Regions from separate parts of the Homo sapiens genome. Here all the other regions are linked to region 1. Evidence: promoter capture Hi-C in 16 types of primary human blood cells and fetal thymus (Javierre and others, 2016). All regions are on one chromosome and are shown on one strand. The core of a region is centred on a gene start or on the middle of the fragment in contact, and the rest is flanking DNA. Distances in the headings are between cores, read along the strand shown. Region 1 holds the start of CCDC73 (coiled-coil domain containing 73). Region 2 has its middle 130 kb from the start of WT1-AS. Region 3 has its middle 120 kb from the start of WT1-AS. Region 4 has its middle 100 kb from the start of WT1-AS. Region 5 has its middle 66 kb from the start of WT1-AS. Region 6 overlaps WT1 (WT1 transcription factor).

The links. Contacts are between HindIII fragments. The CHiCAGO score rates a contact against its expected background, and 5 or more counts as called.
Region 2: a fragment that was not itself captured here is called in contact with the fragment with the promoter of CCDC73 in region 1 in 4 of 17 cell types (total CD4 T cells, naive CD4 T cells, fetal thymus and 1 more); the score reaches 6.1 in total CD4 T cells.
Region 3: a fragment that was not itself captured here is called in contact with the fragment with the promoter of CCDC73 in region 1 in 16 of 17 cell types (total CD4 T cells, naive CD8 T cells, naive CD4 T cells and 13 more); the score reaches 28.1 in total CD4 T cells.
Region 4: a fragment that was not itself captured here is called in contact with the fragment with the promoter of CCDC73 in region 1 in 15 of 17 cell types (fetal thymus, naive CD4 T cells, total CD4 T cells and 12 more); the score reaches 14.2 in fetal thymus.
Region 5: a contact is called between a fragment that was not itself captured here and the fragment with the promoter of CCDC73 in region 1, in 2 of 17 cell types (fetal thymus and megakaryocytes). The highest score is 7.1, in fetal thymus.
Region 6: a contact is called between a fragment that was not itself captured here and the fragment with the promoter of CCDC73 in region 1, in 2 of 17 cell types (M2 macrophages and fetal thymus). The highest score is 5.5, in M2 macrophages.

Annotation. Positions count from the first base shown.
Region 1 is chr11:32,792,979-32,796,949 of GRCh38, reverse strand. It overlaps CCDC73 (coiled-coil domain containing 73), which reads left to right and starts at 2,288. Exons shown (of 18, transcript NM_001008391.4): 1 at 2,288-2,337. RefSeq lists silencers at 3,793-3,912, 3,923-3,971. The HindIII fragment of the contact is 7,830 bases long and covers 2,182-3,971 here.
Region 2 is chr11:32,299,996-32,303,966 of GRCh38, reverse strand. No RefSeq gene overlaps it. Among named protein-coding and RNA genes, the nearest start is that of WT1-AS, 130 kb to the left of the region's middle. The HindIII fragment of the contact is 5,608 bases long and covers 1-3,971 here.
Region 3 is chr11:32,316,263-32,320,233 of GRCh38, reverse strand. No RefSeq gene overlaps it. Among named protein-coding and RNA genes, the nearest start is that of WT1-AS, 120 kb to the left of the region's middle. The HindIII fragment of the contact is 5,878 bases long and covers 1-3,971 here.
Region 4 is chr11:32,332,931-32,336,901 of GRCh38, reverse strand. No RefSeq gene overlaps it. Among named protein-coding and RNA genes, the nearest start is that of WT1-AS, 100 kb to the left of the region's middle. The HindIII fragment of the contact is 2,512 bases long and covers 1,009-3,520 here.
Region 5 is chr11:32,368,014-32,371,984 of GRCh38, reverse strand. No RefSeq gene overlaps it. Among named protein-coding and RNA genes, the nearest start is that of WT1-AS, 66 kb to the left of the region's middle. The HindIII fragment of the contact is 8,271 bases long and covers 1-3,971 here.
Region 6 is chr11:32,393,003-32,396,198 of GRCh38, reverse strand. The region is part of intron 7 of WT1 (WT1 transcription factor); the gene reads left to right. Among named protein-coding and RNA genes, the nearest start is that of WT1-AS, 41 kb to the left of the region's middle. The HindIII fragment of the contact is 9,656 bases long and covers 1-3,196 here.

The sequences.
Region 1 (3,971 bases), core at 1,039-3,538:
ACCTCTGCCTCCTGGGTTCAAGCGATTCTTACGCCTCAGCGTCCGGAGCAGCTGGGATTACACAGGCACCTGCCACCATGCCCGGCTCATTTTTGTATTTTTTGTAGAGACGGGGTTTCTCTATGTTGGCCAGGCTGGTCTCAAATTCCCAACCTCAAGTGGTCCACTCACCTTGGCCTCCCAAAGTATTGGGATTACAGGCATGAGCCACCACAGCTGGCCGAAAAACCCCTTTATAAGGGCATCACATCCTATTCTCCCCTCATGACTCAATCGTCTCCTAAAGGCCACACCTCATAACACACTTGCTTTGGAGATTAAGTTTCAACATGAATCGTGGACAGGACAAAAACATTCAAACCATAGCACTGATCATTGGGGAAATTGCATGGGGTTAGGAGGGCATTCAGAGGTGATTACATTCAACTCATTAGCCTCTCTACACCTTAGTTTTCTAATAGGCAAAAAGTGCATAGTAATAGGATTGTTGTGGAGACTAAGATGAGATGATGTATGTAAAAACACTTAGCTCATTGTCTGGCACATAGTAAATTATCGTAAATATTAGTTATTATTAGAGTATAGCTGTTATGGTTGGTAAATACCAAATTGAAAGGTCATAGTCCATTTATTCATTCATATGAATTTATTTGGCATTTACATGCCAGGCATTGTGCTAGATTCTGGTAAGCAAGTGAACAAAATTCATCTCTGTTTTCACGAAGCTTGTGTCCTAGGATACAGTTAATAAATATACCAGACGAGATGGTGATTGTGCTACAGAGAATAAAACAAGGTGGGGTCAAAGTAGGGGATGTGCATGGGTGTTACTATGGGGTAGTTAGGAATGCTTTCCCTAAAAAGGTGACATCTGGGCAAACGCTTGGAGAAAGGGAAGGAGTAAAAAGAATTCCAGACAGATTTTTACTGGAAAACGTGGTTAAAAATTTGAGGGCGGGGGGCCGGCTGCGGTGGCTCATGCCTGTAATCCCAGTACTTTGGGAGGCCAAGGCGGGCAGATCACCTGAGGTCAGGAGTTCAAGACCAGCCTGGCCAACATGGTGAAACCCCGTCTCTACTAAAAATACAAAAATTAGCCAGGTGTGGTGGCAGGCGCCTGTAATCCCAGCTACTCGGGAGGCTGAGGCAGGAGAATCGCTTGAACCCGGGAGGCGGAGGTTGCAGTGAGCTGAGATCGTGCCATTGCACTCCAGCCTGGGGGACAAGAATGAGACTTTTTCTCAAAAAAAAAAAAAAAATTTGAGGGCAGGAACCACTTCTTTTACATTTTGGTAGCATGCAAAAACAATGTAGGCCTGAAACATATTACATTCTTATTGAATGACTATTCAACATAACATACTGAAACATAGCATTAGTTAGGTGCTTAAAATAGGTGTGATTATCAGTATAATTAGAACTGCAGTTTTTTTTCTATTTCACTTTAAAAATTAAGCAACTTTTCTTTTCTTTTTTTTTTTGACAGGGTTTTGCTCCATTGCCTAGGCTGGAGTGCAGTGGTGCAGTCTTGGGTCACTGCAGCCTTGACCTCCCAGGCTCAATCTATCCTCTTGCCTCAGCCTCCCAAGTAGCTGGGATTACAGCCGCACGCCACCATGCCCGGCTGATTTTTGTATTTTTGGGTAGAGACGGGGGTCTCACCATGTTGCCTAGGCTGGTATCGAACTCCTGACCTGAAGCAATCCTCCCACCTCAGCCTCCCAAATTGTTGGGGTTACAGGCATGAGCCAGTGAACCCTCACACCCGGCTAACATTTATTTTTTGAATTAGTAACACATTCACATGAAGCAAACATCAAAAAGTATAAAAAGCTATTCAGTGAAGTCTCCCTCTCTCTCCCGTTCCCATCCACACACTTCCCATTGCTCCCCACAGGTAATACTTACTCATTTTTCTTTCATCTTTCCAAAGACTTTTTTTTTAAAAAACGAATATATCGGGAGGCTGAGGCAGGAGAATGGCATAAACCTGGGAGGTGGAGCTTGCAGTGAGCCGAGATCGCGCCACTCCACTCCAGCCTGGGCGACAGAGCGAGACTCCGTCTCAAAAAAAAAACCAAAAACAAACCGAAAACAAACAAAAACAAAAAAGAATATATAAGCCAATACATGTTGTACTTAAGGAAAAACATCAAATATCCAGGTATCTTTTCCGAAGCTTGTATTTAAAAAGAAAATAAAATCAATCATATTTTGCCCCAGATGCTCAAGATTACCCACGTATCTTAGGCTAATGACCTTCAAGCCGGAAGTGCCCTAGGGCGGGAAAAGGTGAACCGGAAGGGCCAACAGGAGCTAGAGGCGCGCTTCGCTGAGGTAAGTCGGAGCAGTCACAAGCGTGTAGTTGGGCTGTTTAGGAAGCAGCCCTAATCTTTTCATGCAGGGTCCACTTACGGGTTTGCCCTGCACCTCCAGCTGCGTAACCTACCCTTCCTTGCTCTGGTTGCCAAGGGGCTGCTTTGGCCTGGAGCCTCCTGACTGCTGGGCTGTGTCTAGAATCTTCCACGCTCCCGACCCAGGAGAAGCAGCCACACTGAGGCATCCATCTGGATCTCTGCTTGGGCAGGATTGAGACTGCGGGTGAGTCATGAGGGTCTCGTCTGTTCATCGTGGAGAAGCGCCTTCTGTACATGTGCCTTGCGTGGTGGTGGTTTTTGTTTTAAACCTCATATTTGCCTTATGAATGCAATGCAATCATGTCGATTGTTCTTCTGAAAATTTTCAAACAACTCTGACCGCTCAGAGTTAGCAACATTTGGAACTGTTATTGGTGAATCTCGACTTTTTCTTTGGTGAACGTTACTTTTTGCAGAATGTTTTAAGTATAGTGCGAAAGTTCTAGCGCAGTTGCAGAAGTGTGTAAATTCCCAGGGACATTTCTCTATTTTTTCTTCATTCTGCTGGTGATTTTGTTTCTCCCAAACTGCCTTGCACGAGCAAATTTAAATGGAATCTCACTGGGAATGAAATGACTGCCCTGCTAATCCTGATAATGCTGAATTCTAGATATAAATTATTTGGTCGGGGCGGTGGCTCACATCTGTAGTCCCAGCACTTTGGGAGGCCGAGGCGGGCGGATCACCTGAGGTCAGGAGTTTGAGACCAGCCTGGTCAACATGGTGAAACCCCGTCTCTACTAAAAATACAAAAATTAGCCGGGCGTGGTGGCGGGCACCTGTAGTCCCAGCTACTCAGGAGGCTGAGGCAGGAGAATTGCTTGAACCCGGGAGGCGGAGGTTGCAGTGAGCCTAGATCACTCCACTGCACTCCAGCCTGGGCAACAGAGCGAGACTCTGTCTAAAAAAATAAAATAAAATAAAATAAATTATTCATGTCATTGCTGCAATCTTCCACTTCACTTTGCTGCTGAAAATAAGTGACAACCCTTAAGTCATTTATGGGAACCTTTATGATCAGTGCACTTCTTTTAGAAAGAAAATGTGAAGATTCCACGGAGTCTTCTGCTTATATTGAGATCCTCGAATTGATGATTATTGGTTATTTTGCTTTAGTTGTGATAAATTCCTATGGCTCTCTTTGTTTTATACCTTGAAGAAAAAATCTATACTGAAATATCCCAACCTGAGAATCAGCAAATACGCTGTGGATGGAGTTTCCTCTGTAGTCCTTCACTGGTGTCTTCTCTCAGCCATTTCTTCGGCCAATTTGAGTCTTTACAACTCTCCCTGGTTTCAGGGTTGCCTTGGGGGTAGTTGTTAAGTTTTGGAAAATTAGATTCCCCACTTTGATGATTTATAAAGTGTGTTAATGCAGCTTGAGAAAACGTTTTAATTTCCATACGGCTTCATATCGTAGTGTCAGGAAGGAAGCGAATGACAGATTTTTAAATTCCGAGTGTCCACCAGGCGGCAGCATAGGGTTTTTAGTTTCTTTCGCTCTGGCCGTGTATCCCGTAATAACTGTACAGGTGCGGTGATAGTGTTATTCTA
Region 2 (3,971 bases), core at 1,033-3,532, 490 kb after region 1:
GCACAAACTTTATTTATTTATTTATTTATTTATTTATGGAGACAGAGTCTCACTCTGTTGCCCAGGCCAGAGTGCAGTGGCGTGATCTCAGCTCACTGCAACCTCTGCCTCCTGGGTTCAAGCAATTCTCCTTCATCAGCTTCCTGAGTAGCTGGGATTACAGGCATGTGCTAACATGCCCAGCTAATTTTTTTTTTTTTTTTTGAGACAGAGTCTCGCTTTGTCACCCAGGTTGGAGTGCAGTGGCGCAATCTCGGCTCACTGCAAGCTCTGTCTCCCGGGTTCACACCATTCTGCTGCCTCAGCTTCCCGAATAGCTGGGACTACAGGCGCCCGCCACCGCGCCCGGCTAATTTTTTGTATTTTTAGTAGAGACGGGGTTTCACTGTGTTAGCCAGGATGGTCTCAATCTCCTGACCTCGTGATCCACCCGCCTCGGCCTCCCAAAGTGCTGGGATTACAGGCGTGAACCACTGTGCCCGGCCTTTTTTTTTTTTTTTTTTTTTTTTAATAGAGACGGGGTTTCACCATGTTGGCCAGGCTGGTCTTGAACTCCTGGGCTCAAGTGATCCACCTGCCTCAGCCTCCCAAAGTGCTGGGAGCCACAGTGCCTAGCCTGCCACACAAACTTTAATCTTTTGCAGTACAATACTGTTTGCCTGAGACAAAACTTGAAAATCCAAAACCCAGTATTCTGTTTTATTTGAGCTTCTTGCAGTGTTGGGAAGGTTGTGTGCAAGTTAATATAGCTTGGAAAGTGAGCGTGATTAAATCTTTGCAAAGGCAGCACACAGCTATGGTGATGTCCCCTAACAACCTTCTGCATCATCAACCGTGGATGTAAGGGTTGGGCCTTGCATCTTTCTCAGAAGGCTCCTACTCAAGTCTGTATCTTCCAGCTTTGTTTTTTGTTGGTTCACTGTGGTTTATGGGGCTAGGTAACCTGTACATTGTAGATTCTAATCTGGTGACCTGCATGTTCCTTCTTGTTACAACGGGTCTAAAATTCCATGGTTTAAGTCATAGCTTAAATGCCATTCCTTCATATCTGCAGAGATTGATTTTTCTGCAACTGAAGACCTCCAGCATAAGCTATTCTTGCAAAATGTCATATTACACAGCAGAAAGGGGACTGGACGGACTGTGGGCACACCTAACTGGGTTCTAATCCTGCAGCAAGATATTTCATCTCCGTGGGTGACATTTCCCCTTGTCTATGATGAGGGAGCTGAAGTCAGTAATATCCAAGACTCTTTCAGCTTTTAAATTCTATGATATTTAAGCAGTAGTTTAGGAACAATTTAAAAAAATTGAAAGGAACACCTGACTGAAACTGTGAATTGGTACATTGTGGAGACGTGAATATTTTTATCCTTTTAAAAGTTTGTTTTGTAGCTATACCAGAGATCATAAAAACATGTTATTAAGCAGTTTCTGTGTATTCTCCTTGCATGAAAGTGGAAAGTTTTTTTTTAATTCAAAAAGGTCTTTTATTCTTATTTTCTTCAAAAATATTTTAAAATGAGTTGTCATCTGGTCCAGAAGTTCCTACACCTGGTTTATGGTCAGAAAGATGTGGAGAACTTTAGAAAGTATAGGATTCCTGGGTATCTCTTGGACCTACGGACTCAGAATGTCTGCGTTGTGGGGTTCAGCAGTCTATGTTAAAACCCAAACAGATAGTCAAGAGAACTCCCTGGGTGAGTCTGATGAACAGCCAACTTTGAGAGATCACTGCTAAGTTAGCTTGAGTTCTGTGATTTTGATGCGGTCAGTTTCTGATCGCTGGCTCTGCCTTCCTCATTCCAATATTTTCCCAGTGTCTGCAGATTATTCCCCCATGGGAATAATCTGGGGGATCAATTATTTAACTGTAAAATGCTGGGATGTGTGTATGAGAGGAAGCCCAGGCCTGTGCTAAGGTCTGGGGATGGCTTTTCCAGTTTGTACAGGATGACTGTTTGGGTGCAAATCAAACCCTGTCTTGGTGCCCTGCAGTCTCACTTTGCCATCCTCTTCTCACATGGGTTCTGCCTTCTCACATGTTGAGAGAGTTGCCAGGGTTTATCCACACTGTAGCATGTGTCAGTATGTGCCTTCTTCATATAAGTCAGAAGTCCCATCATATTCAGATGGCATCCTTCTATTTTGGGGGTAACAGCTTTATTGAGATATGATTCACATACCATAATATTCACCCACTAAAATGTACAACCCACTGGTTTTTAGTATATTCACAAATACCTGCAACCATCTCCACAGTCAATTTTAGAATATTTTCATCACCCTGCAGAGAAACCCGGTACTCTCAGCTATCATTCCCTTGCCCCTCCATTCCCCTGGCCCTAGGCAACCACTGATCTGCTTTCTCTCCTTGTAGATTTGCCTGTTCTAGACATTTCATATAAACTAGATGTTTCATATAAATGAAATCATACAATGTGTGGTCTTTTTTGACTGCTTCTTTCACTTAGTATAATGTTGCCAGAGTTTATCCACATTGTAGCACGTGTCAGTACAGATTCCTTTTATGGTGAAATAATATTCCATTGTGTGGATATCCCACATTTTATTTATCCATTTATCCACTGATAGACATTTGGGTTGTTTCTACTTTCTGGCTACTATGAATAATGCTGCTGTGAACATTTGGTTAAGAACTTTTGTGTGGCTACATTTTTATTTCTCTTGGGTATATACCTAGGAGTAGAATTGTTGTGGGTCATATGGCAACTTTATGTCTAACATTTAGAGGAGCTCCCAGACTGTTTTCTGAAGTGGCTACACCATTTTGCATTCCCGTCAGCAGTGTAGGAGGGTTCCAATTTCTCCATGTCCTTGTCAACACTACTTATTTACCATTTTTTTTGTTTTTTCAAATGATAAACATCCTAATGAATATGGAGTGATATCTCATTGTGGTTTGCTTTCTTCCATTTTTAAGTGGTTACCACCAAACATAATGAATTTACTTAATTTGACCAGGGAAGGCCTTTTTAAGATTAAAATAAACTCTTAATTGTTCATTGTAGATAGACTAGAAAATAACAGACAAATAAAAAAGTCCAAAACCCAAATCACCCACAGTCTTACCATCTAGGGAAAACCAGTGTTACACTGTGGACTGCCTCTTTTTAGAATCCTCTCCTATGTAATCATCACTTTTTAAAAGAGAACTTTTTAGATCCAGTGAAACCAATTGGTAGAATTATGTAGCAGATATTTTTGAGCTTTCCTACTCCCCATTTGAGATGAGTCCAGGGTTGGGCCTCTCTACTATTCATACCTGCAAAGACTCTGACCTGGGCAGTAAATGCTTTAAGAATTGCCTTTTAAAAATCCACCCTAAAATTTTGGGTCAATCATCAGAGATGATGTTATGACATGCATTTGTCTTTGTGTCATCTAATGAATCTAATATGATCAATATTTAAAAATTAAAATGTAAAAAAAAAAAACCATATGCCTCTGCCAGCAGCATGTCAAAGATTTTTTAGGTTCAGGATATGAGGGAATGTAGGTCACCTCCAACCTTCACTCCAAGGCCATATTCAGTGTCTAAGTGGCATCAGGAATTTTTGTTCAGTGACAGGAAAACAAGATTGAAGAAGAAAGGTTTGCTTCTCTGGACTGCCTGAGCTTGGGGACATGTGAGCACCCCCCACAACACCCACTCAGAGGTCCCTTGTGTTTTCTGTTAGACATCACACATTGGCCGACCTCAGATCAGGCCTCCCTCTCTCCTGCCCCTACCACTTGGAAAGAGGTTTAGAGTTAAGTGAGACCAACCTCTCCTGCAGGGGACATCAGTATAACAGCAGCACTTTTGCTATTAATAATTATGCATTTTTCCTGCGAATGCCTTGGAAGAGTGTGAGGGAAGCTAGGATTGTTTTAACTCTCTTTTCTTGATCTCCCTCCTCCTCTGTCTCTCCCACCCCCATCCCAGCTACAAGGTCATGAAAGGATTT
Region 3 (3,971 bases), core at 844-3,343, 480 kb after region 1:
GTTAACTTTTTTTTTTAACACAGATTTCTTTCACTAGCTTAATGGGAATTCACAGAAATCATAGCCTTTTAATTGAAGCCAATATGTTTCAGTGCCAGATATTCTGAAGAATTCCAATGAACCAAAAAAGAACACATTTCTGAACTGGAAGGGTGCATATGGGACCCTTCAGAAGCCTGACAGAAATGCCTGATGGAAGGCTTTGAAACTGGAAAAATATTAATAAAGAGAACATTAGTGTGGTTTTCAGAATAGCTTAAATAATGTGTGTCGTGAAATCATTTTCTATACCAAAGGATGGATGGATTGAAAAATTGAGACTCTTGCCTAGTCTTGATGCTATAAAGTCTAAATTGGACTTCAGTCCATTTGAAATAATAAAGATAATCTATGATAGTTGTATTTATTGAACCCAAAACTAATATGAGTGACCGTATTTTCTTTTTCTTTTCTTTTCTTTTCTTTTCTTTTTTTTTTGAGATTGAGTTTCACTCGGTCATCAGGCTGGAGTGCAATGGCACCATCTCGGCTCACTGCAACCTCCGCCTCCCAAGTTCAAGCGATTCTACTGCCTCAGCCTCCTGAGTAGCTGGGACTACGGGCATCCGCCACCATGCCCAGCTACTTTTTGTATTTTTAGTAGAGATAGGGTTTCACCATGTTAGCCAGGCTGGTCTCAAACTCCTGACCTCAAGTGATCTGCCCACCTCGGCCTCCCAAAGTGCTGGGATTACAAATGTTAGCCACCGCACTGGGCGGAGTGACTGTATTTTCAAAATTAGTACAAGTGATCTGACAAGGAAAATCTGGAAGACAAGGGAACACAATATTAGAAATTGAATGAATCCTTGAAAGTGTGGGATGTAGAGCCATTGTAATGGCAGATACAAGGAAGTCGCAGATTCATTTTGTTATGGTTTGGCCAAACAGAAACAGTCTGGGACCAACAGATGATTTAAGTTTTAATCATTGCCCTGCACTTATCTAGCTGTGGGACTACGCAAGTCACTTACCCTTGACGTGTTTCTGTTTCTCAGATTTAAAACGGTGATTATATGTACCTTGGCCATCTTATGAGGTTGTTGTTAGGACCCTAATGAGCTATGGGATATGAAAGTTTCTTGTTATACCAGTGGAGTTATTTCTGTGGTTCTGAATAATAATGGCCAGAGACCATGCTTTATTCTCTATTGCCTCACCCAAGTGCTTAGCACCTGCCTGTATAAGGAAAGGCTCGTGGACAGTGTGCATGAATGAATGAGTGACTGGTTCTCTTTGCTTTAGTTTTATTTTCTCCCTCAGAGGCTTGGGCCAAAAAATAAAACTAAACATGTGGTTTGGGATTCTTCAGAGTTTTACACAGGTGCCTGTACTGGTACCCATCCAAGTCTGAGCCACATGCATAAACATGAACATATTCTGATAGACATCCTAGTATTACATGTGTACAGGCTGTTTGGTGGGATTTTTCCTATGGTATTGGATTTGGCAACTAGAGCCTCAGCTGCAAATGCAACATTTTAAAGAAAGTCAATGACAGTTGTGGCCTCCTCCCCTTCCCTTCTTCACTCCCCTACCTGCCAGTCTACTATAGGGCAGCCCACTCAGGCCTCCTACCTCCAGCTGTTGACTCAGCCGCCTTTTACCCTGAAGGCCTTTTGCAAAGGTGCTGGTGGGAGGCAAAGAGGGAGAGAGTTCTCTTGGTTGCACCCTTTCAGGGGAATAGTGTTCATGGTTTTCTTCTCTTTCCAAAGGGAGGGAATGACAATGGGCAGGGGAATTCCTGCAACAGATTAAATGAGGGAAGATATTTCTTCTTACTTGCAAGAAAGGAAAACTGGCTTTAGGTTTCCCTGTTGGACATGTGCTTGGTCGGAGGGCTTGTAGATCTGTCCCTTGGCCTCCTGGTGCAGAGAAGAGAACTGGAGACAGATGGCAAGGTGCAGAGAGGGCCAGCCCTGGGGCAGCCTCCACAGCACTGGTTGATGTGGTAAGGATGCCTGAGTGTGTCACGGTCAGGAGCATGCTGGTGCAGAGCTCTCAGGTTTGAGTCTCCTGCTGGTTCTCCCACTCAAGGGGGTGACCCATGCGGTGAAGATGTACCCCAAAGAGTCACACTTCCAGCTCCAGTGCCCTGCCAGGGAGAGAGGGGATGAGACTTAAACTGAGTCATGATTGACAAAAACTGAACTAACTAGCAGTAAGTGACAGTGACCAAGAAGTGATGGAACTTGCCCGAGATCCCCTACTCAAGGAGGGAAGGGAGATTTGACAGCACATAGCTAAAAGCAGTGATGAGAAGATCAAAACATAGAAAACAAAGCAAAACCCTGTTTCATGCCTGTAAGGCACTAAGCAGAAACTCTTCCATAAAGTGATTATGCTGATTAGAAACTGCCTTCATGTGGTTTGACTCCAGCCTACTTAAGCACTGAAGCCATAGTCTGAGCAGAAAAGACCTTAGTGAGAATTCCTTCAGACTAGTAGATTTCAGATGCTATTCCAGGAAGTCTAGGGTGGGCAAGGCAGCCCACAGAGGTTGCTCAGGACTTCCTGGGGGAAGGAAAAGAATGAGGTTTAGGTGGTGGCTTGTGGAGGAAGGTAGAATGCAGAGGACATAGGACTTCTGGTCTCCCTCCCTTTATCCAGAAGTAAATTTGTTTTTACCTGCTTTTATATATCAGGCTTCCTTGTGAGATGACTCTTGGACAAAAAAGGCTTCCTCATAATCCATCCCCTTTATTTCTGAGATAAATAAACTGAGGTTTAGCCTGGGGAAGTGACAAGCCACAGACCACAGAACCTTGAGTGGCAGGGTCAGGACCCAGGTCATTTGGTTCTGCATCCCGTCCCACACAGGAGGGTAGAGTTAGCCTCATGAATTCAAGGTGCATTTATTGAGCACCTACTAGGTAGAGTCACACAATGTTTTTTTTTTTTCTCTTTTTCCTAAAAGATTAATGCAGTTATTGCATCCATTTGGTGCCTTTACTGCCGGAAAAATAACAGCCAGCAGGGGCTTTCTAGGGTTACCATGGTAAGAGATCTCTGCAAGTCAAACACTATTAACTTTAATGAAGCGGCTTTGATGGTGGGGAAGAGACAGCTGACACCCTATTTCCCTAACAATAAACCACTCTGACAGATAAAAACAAACAGGCTCAAGATAACATATAGCATTTTGGAGAACTGGGCCTGTAATGAATGCAGACGGATGTGAGCCATACTTTCCTCTAAAGCTGTGTTTCTCCATCTGTTGTGGAAACTTCTAAAAGGCAGACCAGGATGACCTAATCTGGCTTTTACAGAAACCACCCCTTGGTGGTTATAATATAACCACCAACCAATAAAAAAGATTATAATTATTATAAGGATGGCCTGGGGAGGAATTTTTAAATAAACCTAGTTCATCTGAGGTTTCTTTCTGAAGACCCTCTTTGCTCTGCGTTACCTGTGGGGTCTGAGCGCTGATGGTTTGTTTATCCAATTCTGGAAACCCAGGTAATACACTCCTCCGCCTTCCCTGTCATGGGGTGACCTAACCTGCTGATATCCCTGCTATGGGGAGAGCTTCTCAGCCCCCAGAAACGATCCTGTGATCACTTATCATTGCACATGGAGCTGCCAGGGCTTCTTCCATCTTGGCAAATCCAATGGATAACTTGGCCTACAACAAAATACAAACATAATTCCCCAGGGTTAGACTAGGTTTGGCGCTAAAGCCTATTGGAGGCCATGGAGATGGAAATGGTGTGCAATTTGGGGGCTCTGACATAATTTGGTCATTAGTCATTAGACTCAGATTTCAGTTTCACTATGAGGAGTGACAAATATTAGCTTAAAAAATGTTTATTTCAGTTCTTCGCCAGGCTGTGTCACTTAATGAAACACCCCACGTTATGTCCTTTCATTGGGGGCTATTTTTGTGTATGAGGTAGGAGAAGGATCATTATAATTGCACTTTTGATTTT
Region 4 (3,971 bases), core at 1,015-3,514, 460 kb after region 1:
GGGCACCTGTAGTCCCAGCTACTCGGGAGGCTGAGGCAGGAGAATGGCATGAACCCAGGAGGCAGAGCTGAGATCACGCCACTGCACTCCAGCCTGGGCGACTGAGTGAGACTCAGTCTCAAAAAAAAAAAAAAAAAAAAAAAAAAAAAGGAAACAATTGTTCATGTCACAGTTTTCAATTTACTCACAAAGAACATCTTTTCATGTCAATAAATATTCTCTGAAAGATAATTGTACATAGTTGTCTTGTATCCCTTCATATGTATGTATCATGATTTATTTAACTAACTTTCTACTGTGGGACAAATTTTGGTTCTTTCCAAACTCTTTATATTATAAGCAACAGTGTGTTGAACATTTTTGTTGCAAAAACTCTGTTTATGCTGTTATTTCCTCAAATTCAATTCAGTGCTACTTTTGACAGTACTACTTTTGGTGGCTTTTAATCCCATGCTTTGTGAGATGAAGTCTCTGCAAATATGTATGTTTGGGAATGCTACAATTCTTCACGGGTCTGGAAACCAGTTTTAAAAGCTCCACACATTTCTGCTGTTGTACAGTTCAGTTTGGAAGCCACCGTGGTCGTAGACTCAGTTGCCATTTACCTAAGGAATGCTGTGCCGATAGAGGCCAGAGTGAAGCAGTAGAAGAAAAATGGGCAGGGCAAGGGGTGTCTGGCTTAGAATGACAAACAGCCCAAGATTAGTAGAAAGCACATGGCATAATCTACCTACTTAGCACTAGGATGTGCTTAGAGCTCTATACAGTGGGAAGTATTGCTTTAGGCAGAATTTCATTAAAAGTACTCATGACTCCTCTGAAATAAGTCACATTCATTTGGAAGCAAAACTTAAGTGTGCTTTTTTTTTTTTGATAAAAAGAGTGTTTTACACTGCTGAGATTTTTGAGTGAGGGCTCCAGAAAACAAGTACCATTTCAGCAAAGTCAGATAAAAGACAGAGTCTAGTAATTCTTAAACTAGTGAGCAGAAACCTCATAAGGCAAGCTTGTTACAAAGCAGGTTTCTGGTTTCTGGACTTCATTGCTTTTTTTTTTTTTTTTTTTTCTTAGGGGGTCTTGCTCTGTTGCCCAGGCTGGAATGCAGTGGCATGATCATGGCTCACTGCAGCCTCGACCTCCTGGGCTCAATCGATCCTCCAACCTCAGCTACCCAAGTAGCTAGGACCACAGGCATGTACCACCATGCCCAGCTAATTTTTTAATTTTTCTGTAGAGACAGGGTCTCACTGTGCTGCCGAGGCTGGTCTCAAACTCCTGGCTTCAAGCAATCCTCCTGCTTTAGCATCCCAAAATTCTGGGATTACATGCCTGAGCCACCCTGCGCAGCTCATTCTGATAGTGATAGGAAGCAGCCAAACACCTAGATAGATAGGGGTGGGTACCCGGTGAAACCCCGCCTCCAAACTGAAGACAATTTAAAGCTGAAAAGCCAAGCTACAAGTTAAATCCTCCCAGCTGATTGAGAACTTGTCTTCCTGTTTGGTGTGCTTTCCCCTGATTGGTCCCCACCCTTCACTTATTTTACAAGTACCTACCCTTTCCTAATTGGTTTTCTACACTGTCATACCCACCTTTGAGTGGTGTCTTTGCTTTAACCTTTTTAGCCTACTCACACACCAATCAGCACACACTCCCCATTTTGAGTCCATAAAGGCCCCAGACCCAGCCACACGGGGGAACTTTCCCGCCTTTGGGTAGGAGGACCAACCCTGCATCTCCTCTTTGCTGAAAGCCATTTTCATGGCTCAGTAAAATTCTCCACCTTCACCATCCTTCAACAGTCCATGTGACCTCATTCTTCTTGGACCTGGACAAGAGCTTGGGACTCACCACGTGTGGGTACCCAGAAAAGGCTGTCACACTGGCCCTTGCCAGTAGAGGGCAGCTGCCCCAAGCCACCATGAGGCAAGAGGCTGAGCTGCTAACGCACCGCCCTCCATATAACCGCCAATGGAGGAACTGAAGGAGCACTGTAACACCCTCTCTGGGGCTTCCGGGCCAGGACCCCGCACAGAACTTGCTCCTGTTTTGTGCCTGGAGCAGCTAGCTGGGTTCTGCCCTCACTTGTTCACGTGCTCCCTCCTGCAAGGGGTTGAGCCTGGCAGGCCGGCCGAGTAGAGGGGGTGCCCCCGCTGGCAGAGGGGCCGAGAAAAAGGAATCTGATGTCAGTGGTCCATGGATCACAATTTGAGAAACTTAGACTGTTTTGACTGTTTTGTCAGAAATCACCAGAGTTGCTTGAATCTGGAAACTTATCTGGAATTCCCTTGTTACCTGTCACAGGATTTTAGGCTTAAGGCTGAGAAGAGTTTTTAACATCAAACAGGGCACAACCCTTGGCTGACCGACTTCCAAGCGGCTTTTATGGAGCCAGTGTCAAGCAAACGTTTGGGATGGTAAGGTTTTCTAACGTTGTTCGGGCAGCTGTCTCTTTGCTAGGAGTACTTAAAATTCAGCAATCCCTTCAGAAAGCAAGGGCTGTCACGCTGGAAGGCTGTATAGAGCTTGGTAATGGGCTTTGAAAAGCGGTAATCAGGGAAACTGAACAAACAGGCCGGCTTGAAAAACAGGCCTCAGGAATAGGAAATGGCCACTTACAATTTGGAAGCCCATTTTTTGAGGTCCCTGTTCCTCTCTGTGTCCTTTTTGTGTTCTAACAACGCCCCTCCTCCCTCTGAGGCCTGTCGCTCTACTTTGAATAACTCTAGAGTCAAATTAAGACGCAAATACTCGAATGTTTGACCCTAACAGGTAGTCAATGCCCTCAGCCTAGAGAGTCGGGTTGGGGCCTGGCGGTGTGAAGCTCTCGCAGCTCTCAGGAGTTAGTTACTGAAAGTTCCATGAGGGAAGGTCGTTTTCGCTGCAGAGTGGCCCAAACACGCTCCCACTTCTGTCCCTCCGGGCCACAGGCTGCAGCGCAGGGCCTCTAGGGTCAAAAGTTGCGGGCGGTGAAGCCCACAGTGCCTGCCTGGGCCGTCGCGTCAATCGCGACTTGTACCCGCCGGACCCGCCCCTGCCCTTGGAGGCGCCAGCGACGCCTGCTGCAGAGGGTAAGCGCTGCGGGGTTCCCGGACGTCCTGAACCGAGCGCCGGACCGCGGGCGAGCCCTGAGATCTGCAGGTTCTCGCCAGCTCCTCCGCGCGTCAGGAGCGCCGGCCGGGGCGTCCGGTCCACCCGGGATTCAAGTTCAGATCCGCGGCGGCCTGGCTGCTTCCCTTCCGCCTGGATAGAGCTGTGGGCCCCGGGGGACTTTCAGTGGTGCAGACACCGCTCCTGCGTGGCTGGGGGCGGCAGTGTCCCTTGTTCCCAGCCGTGTACTCCCTCAGCCTCCCCTGCTGCCCTTGAACACTTTGTCCCTGCGCAGCCCAGGCCAAGGTCTGTTTGCAAACCTCCCGCGTCTCCCCGGTCAGGAGAAGCCGCCTGCTCGCTCCTCGGCTCAGCTCACGAATTCCCTCTAGAAAACACGCCGGAAGGGGGAGCTTTGGGTCAAACGAAAGCTTTTCTGTCCAGAATGGGCCGCCTTCCGTGCACCTGGTTTTAATAAGAGCCTAGGGAGAAATACGGCCGGGGGTGGGGGTGGGGGGCGAAGGATCCCCAAGAAATTCTGTCCAGAGAGAGAAAAAGGGTGCACGAGGACTGTACGTGCGCAGACGCATTCACTGTACGAGGCTTTGTAAAGACCTCGTGCACTTTTCAACTTCAATTGTAGCCTGGAGAGGATGTAGGTTGTAGTGATGTTAGAAATGGGATGTAAACCGCAGTTAAAAACACGTTTATTAACATCGAGGACAAGGAGACTGCGCAGTTGTGCACAATGTATTCTTTTCTTCCCAGTTTTCATAAGAAAAAAGAATATTGAAAAACAACTTCCGCCCCTTCCTATACTCCCACCTTCCTAATCCTCGTGCGCACTTATTTTTACATAGTTGCAATTAGAGGTACACGGCATT
Region 5 (3,971 bases), core at 1,085-3,584, 430 kb after region 1:
TGGCTCATAGATGGCCCCTTGCTGTGTCCTTACATGGTGGAGGGAAAGAATTCACTCTTTAGGACCTCTTCTCTAAGGGCACTAATCCCATTCACAAGGGCTCTGTCCTCATGGCCTAATCATCTCCCAAAGGCCCCACATCCTAATACCATCACCTTGGGGGTCAGGATTTCAACATATGAAATTTGGGGGGACACATTCAGACCATAGCAATGTGCACATTAAAACAACAATGAGATGCCATTTCACATTTGCTGAAATGGCTCCAGTGGAAAAAACTGACAACACCAAATACCGCCAAGGATGTGCAACAGCTAGACTTCTCATACACTGCTGAGGAGAGTGTGAAATAGCAAAGCCATTTTGGAAAAACTGTTTGGCAGTTCCATATAAAGCTAAGTATACATCTACCCCATGGCCAAGCAATTCTATATTCTTTGTTATCTACCCCCACAAAAATGAAAACAAATATCCAAAATAAGAATTGTACAAGAATGAGAAAAAAGAATTGTATAAGAATGTTTATATTACTTGTATTCAGAATAGCTAAAAATTGCAAACAACCCAAATGTCTATCAATGGGAGAAGGTATAAGTGAATAAAGTGTGGCACATTCATACAATGCAATACTATCCAGCAATTTGAAAAATGAACAACTGATATATGCAACAACATGGATGAATCCCAAAAAAGTTTGAATGAAAGAAGTCAGACAAAGGGGAAGATACCACGTCATTCCTAATATATGAAGCTCAAGAAAAGGCACCATTTCTATGATGATATAAATCAGAAAAGTGGTTGTGTGTGGAGGGTGATGTTTTCCTGGAAGAGGGCACAGGGAAATTTTCTAGGGTAATGAAATGTTCTTTATCTCGATTGGATTGTTGAGTACTTGGGCATATACATTTAATGAAAGTCATCAAACTGTACACTTAAAATCTGTACATTTCATTGATTTTTACCTCAGTTAAAAAAAAAAACCTTCCAGTCTGCCTCATGACCACGACCTCAAAGCAAAAAAAGGAGAAGGAGGAGGAGAAAAGAATGTTTGGAGTGGGGTTATAAAACAAGAATGAATAAAACAGGAATGGAGAAATGTTAAAAAATTGTGAAGGCTGAGTAGTGACCACATGGGGGTTTAATAGTGTACTTTTCTGTCTTATCTTTGTGCATGTTAAAAATTTCCATAATATAAAGTTTTAGAAATTAGGCCAAGCAAGGTGGCTTATGCTTGTAATTCCAGCACTTTGGGAGGCCAAGGCAGGAGGATGGCTTGAGGTCAGAAGTTGGAGATCAACCTAGGAAACATAGTGAGACCCTATCTCTACAAAAATTAAAAAGTTAGTTGGGAATGGGGGCACATGCCTGTAGTCCCAGCTACCGGGAGGCTGAGGTGGGAGGATCCCTTGAGCCCAGGAGTTTGAGCCTGCAGTGAGCTATGATTACACCACTGCACTCCAGCCTGGGCAAGAGAGTGAGAACCTATCTCAAAAAAAAAAGATTTAAAAAATTAAATGCAAAAGCCAATATTAGAAGAACCAAAGCAATTCTCCTTCAAAACAGAAGCAGACAAGGATGTCTCTTGTCCTTACTGCTCTCTTTGTTTCCTTCTTTCTTTCTTTCCTTCTTTCTTTCTTTCCTTCTTTCCTTCCTTCCTTCCTTCCTTCCTTCCTTCCTTCCTTCCTTCCTTCCTTCCTTCCTTCCTTCCTTATACCAGTCTGAGTCAACAAACAAAACTTTCCTGGGAACCTAAACAACACTTTAAATTCTAGTAAACTAAACTCATAAATATGGTGATTGATATGGTTTTGCTGTGTCCCCACCCAAAACTCATCTTGAACTGTAGCTCCTACAATTCCCATGTGTCATGGGAGGGGCCCAGTGGGAGGTAATTGAATCATGGGGGCAGGTCTTTCCTATGCTGTTCTCATGATAGTGAATAAGTCTCATGAGATCTGATAGTTTTATAAAGGGGAGTTTCCCTGCACAAGTTCTATTATTCTCTCTTGTCTGCTGCTGTGTACGATGTGCCTTTTGCCTTCCACCATGATTGTGAGGCCTCCCCAGCCACATGGAACTGTGAGTCCATTAAACCTCTTTTTCTTTTTAAATTACACAGTCTTGGGTATGTCCTTATCAGCAGCATAAAAACTGACTAATATGGTAAATTGGTACCAGTAGAATGGGGCGCTGCTGAAAAGATACCTGAAAATGTGGAAGTGACTTTGGAACTGGGTAACAGGCAGAGGTTGGAACAGTTTGGAGGGCTCAGAAGAAGATAGGAAAATGTGGGAAAGTTTGGAACTCCCTGGAGACTTGCTGAATGGCTTTGACCAAAATGCTGATAATGATGTGGACAATGTAATCCAGGCTGAAGTAGTCTCAGATGGAAATGAGGAACTTGTTGGGAACTGGAGAAAAGGTGACTCTTGTTATGCTTTAGCAAAGAGACTGGTGGCGTTTTGCCCCTGCCCTGGAGATTTGTGGAGCTTTGAACTTGAGAGAGATGATTTAGGGTATCTAGCAGAACAAATTTCTAAGCAGCAAAGCATTCAAGAAGTGTTAAAAACATTCAATTTTAAAAGGGAAACACCATAAAGGTTTAGAAAATTTGCAGCCTGATAGAGAAAACAGAAAAGAAAATCCTATTTTCTGAGGAGAAATTTAAGCCGGCTGCAGAAATCTGCATAAGTAAGGAGGAGCTGAATGTTAATCACCAAGATAATGGGGGAAAATGTCTCCAGGGTGTGTCAGAGAACTTTGCAGCAGCCCCTCTTATCACAGGCCTGGAGGCCTAGGAAGGAATAATGGTTTTGTGGGCTGGGCCCAGGGTCACACTGCTGTGTGCAGTCTAGGGACTTGGTGCCCTGTGTCCCAGCTGCTCCAGCCATTACTAAAAGGGGCCAAGGTACAGCTCAGGCTGTGGCTTCAGAGGGTGCAAGCCCCAAGTCTTGGCAGCTTCCACGTGGTGTTGAGCCTGGAGGTGCACAGAAGCCAAGAGGTGAGGTTTGGGAACCTCTGCCTAGATTTCAGAGGATGTATGGAAATGCCTGGATATCCAGGCAGAAGTTTGCTGCAGGGGTGGGGCCCTCATAGAGAACCTCTGCTAGGGCAGTGCAGAAGGGAAATGTGGGGTGGGCAACCCCACACAGAGTCCCCACTGGGGTGCTGCCTAATGGAGCTGTGAGAAGAGGGTCACCGTTCTCCAGACCTGAGAATGGTAGATCCACCAACAGCTTGCACCACGCACCTGGAAAAGCCATAGATACTCAACACCAGCCTGTGAAAGCAGCCAGGAGGGAGGCTGTACCTTGCAAAGGCACAGGGGCAGAGCTGCCCAAGACCATGGGAACCCACCTCTTGCATCAGCGTGACCTGGATATGAGACATGGAGTAAAAGGAGATCTTTTTTTTTTTTTTTTGGAGCTTTAAGATTTGACCTCCCCACTAGATTTCAGACTTGCATGGGGCCTTTAGCCCCTTCATTTTGGCCAATTTTTTCTACTTGGAATGGGTATATTTATCCAATGCCTGTACCCCCATTTTATCTAGGAAGTAACTAACTTACTTTTGATTTTTTCAGGCTCGTAGGCAGAAGGGATTTGCCTTGTCTCAGTTGAGACTTTGGACTGTGGACTTTTCAGTTAATGCTGAAATGAGTTAAGACTTTGGGGGACCATCAGGAAGGCATGATTGGTTTTGAAATGTGAAGATATGAGATTTGGAAGGGGCCATGGGCAGAATGATATGGTTTGGCTGTGTCCCCACCCAAATCCCATCTTGCATCATAGCTCCCACAATTCCCATGTGTCATGGGAAGGACTAAGTGGGAGATAATTGAATCATGAGGGCGGGTCTTTCCTGTACTGTATTCATGATAGTGAATAAGTCTCACAAGATCTGATAGTTTTATAAAAGAGAATTTCCCTGCACAAGTTCTAGTATTCTCTTTTGTCTGCCACCGTGTGCCT
Region 6 (3,196 bases), core at 298-2,797, 400 kb after region 1:
CTCTCACACTGCTAAGGACCCAGGTTATTTCCAGGATGGAAAGTAAGCACTGCTTTGAAAGGTCTGATCCAGGTGTTGTAAAGAGGCTGTGGGGCCATTTTGCATTCTGATTATCTATCCTTTATTACAGAGGTCAGTAAACTGTCTTCCAGAAAGGCAGAGCAGAGTGGTAGAGAGAAAGTGCCACAGAATTAAAGAGACCTGTGTAGGAATCGTGTTGGTGTTAGAATACTATTAGCATTTCTAAGGAGAGAGGAGCTGGCCTGGGAATATAGTCATCAGATGGTTTTAGGAGGTCGATGGGCAAGATCATTGTGAAATTTTAGAAGAGATGGTCCAAAGAAAAACTTACCTGCTTGGGTCAGTAATAATCAACTAGACAGGAAGGGGAAAATTGATTGTTAGTTTGATTTTTTAGTGATCACTTAAAAAAAAAAGGTCAGTCATGGGGGCTCACGCCTGTAATCCCAGCACTTTGGGAGGCCGAAGTGGGTGGATCACCCAAGGTCAGGAGTTGGAGACCAGCCTGGCCAACAAGGTGAAACCCCGTCTCTACTAAAAATACAAAAATGAGCCGGGTGTGGTGGCACGCACCTGTACTTGGGAGGCTGGGGCAGGAGAATTGCTTGAACCTAGGAGGCAGAGGTTGCAGTGAGCTGAGATCTTACCACTGTACTCCAGCCTGGGCGACAGAGCAAGACTCTGCCAAAAAAAAAAAAAAGGAGAGAGAGAGATGATGATTTTTTATCTTTGAAGATACGCCAATGAAACTGGATTTTCCCCCAGGTCAGAGAGGCTGCTTCTGGGAAACAGAGAACTGGCATTGTTTGGTGTTGGCCACCTTGAATGTGGACAGCCATGTCACAGAACGTTTACTCTGGGCCTTGTGGGCACTAGGTGGGAGTGTGGGAGTGTGGTAAAACCCAGGTTTTCCTACAGAGGAGCTACTGCTGCCTTTTCCACAATCGAAGAACAGCATTATTATAGGATCACTGTTGCAACTGTGTTATTACTGCTGATTTTGCTCTTGGGAAGCTGGAGAAAAAAGTGAGCTGCATTCAGATTTCCTTGGACCATTGAAATTTGCTAATTCACTGTGTCCAGAGGATGCAATTCTGGTGTCAATCTGAGTTTGCACTCAGTGGGCCACAGACTTTGAGGCTAAAAAGGAGGGGACCAGTGGCATGTTATGTTTTTACACATTTCCCCAAATGGGATCATTTGAAAAGTGACTGTCAAGGTTATAAGGAAAACGAGAAAGTAAAGTCCTGCCTGAAAAATGCAAGGGAATAAATGAAGGCAATATGGTTGTAGAAACTTTTAGTGAGAGAGAAGCACTTAGAATGCAGTGAGGGTTAGACAACTGTGTGAAGGGAAGGCAGTGAACAAGACAGCCAAAACCCCAGACCCACTGGAGCCTTTAAGAAACTCTTCCTTGCAGAAGATGAGGGCAGGTTGGTATTTAACAATCCTACAGTCCCCCTTGAAAGAGAGCAATATTTTCTTATTTATTTATAACAACAGTACAGACTGTTATATTAAGTACTTTTTGGGTGTCAGGCTCTCTACATGTATATTTCATTTAATCCTCACTCACAAAACATTTATGAAGAGTATAGGATATAGCAGAAAGAGGACTCAAACTCCTTCTTTTTAACTGCAGGTTATAATCCTCCTTCTCAAAGAGTTCCTGGTTTGTTTGGGAGCTAGGATATAAAGAAATGAAAAGTGACTGAGAGAGTACATGATCATGTACTAAATCAGAGACAGGAGGTACCGAGGGGTTTGGAGGGTATCAGTTTGAACTAAGGTCATCCGAGAAAGTTTCTCAGAGGAAGAACAGCTTGGGTTAGCCAGTGGAGGCTGGTAGTTTGGGCAGAGAAAGTGATAGATGAGCAGAAGCTCAAAGGCAGGGGAAGGAAATCAGACTCAATAGGGGTAACATCTTCTCCAGCTCACAGAGGTGAAACATAAGGCACCAACCTGGATACAAATACAAAGAAAGGGGCCAGGTGCAGTGGCTCACACCTGTAATCCCAGTATGTTGGGAGGCGTAGGCGGGAGGATTGCTTAAGGGGTTCAAGACCAGCCTGGGCAATATAGTGAGACCCTGTCTCTAAAAAAAATATTTTTAAAAATTTAGCCAAGTGTGCTGGTGTATGCCTGTAGTCCCAGCTACTCAGGAGGCTGAGGTAGGAGGATTGCTTGTGCCCACGGTTTCGAGGCTGCAGTGAGCTAGGCTCACACCACTGCGCTTTAGTCTGGGCAACAGAGAGAGACTCTGTCTCTGAGAAAAAATAAAAATAAAAAGGCTCCAGCCCTTAGGATTTTCCAACCCATTGAAGAATTGTAGAATTGTAGACCCAGACACAGCTCACCACATTAGACAGCCTGGAATAAATGTCGTAATGAGGGAAGGAAGGGAAATTGGCCCATGCAGTTTCCAAGCAGGCATTGCAGAAGAAGGAGACACCCAGGAGACTTTTCGATGTGGAGATAGGGATGGGGGACATTTAGTGTGAGCAGAGTGCAAGGAGGACTTCAGGATGTGAGCTCTGGCATAGTGGGGAATAGAGATTCATGAGGGAAATAGCCCAGGCTTTGAGATTGGAAAGGTAACAGGGGGCTGCCTTTGCAACAGAAAGACCTGACTGATTCTAGAATGGCTTGTTTCCATCCCAGATGCCTGTGACTCAGGATTCTCCTAAGAAGGTGGGAAGGCCTGGGGTTGCTCACTTCTCTTGGGGCTCAGGTCCCAGTATTTGGCTGAACTTTCTCTAGTGAGGACAGGGGTGAGGCTTCTCCATTCTGAGACAGGAGGTTGGGTAATCCCACTACTGACTTCTCTTGGATAAAGCACACCAAAAACTTTCTCAGTGCTTTTGGTGTGTTTTGAGGGTCTCACAACCATGGAGTCATATTTGCTTGATGCAAGAACAAGGAGTCAGTAGCAAAGAACACCAGATCTTTGGGCCCTAAAACATAAAACTCTTATTTCATGAGGTTGACCTCAAGGCACATGCATCCCAGAATTCTGCCTCAGATTCTGCCTGGGAGTTAAAGATTTTGTTTTTTATTTGCTAATAGTTTTTGAGCACGCCTTCTATGCCAGGCTCTGGGCTGAGCCCTTTATGTGAAGGTCATAAATCCTTTAAAGTTGTTGGATTATTGGACCCATTTTACAATAAAGAAACCA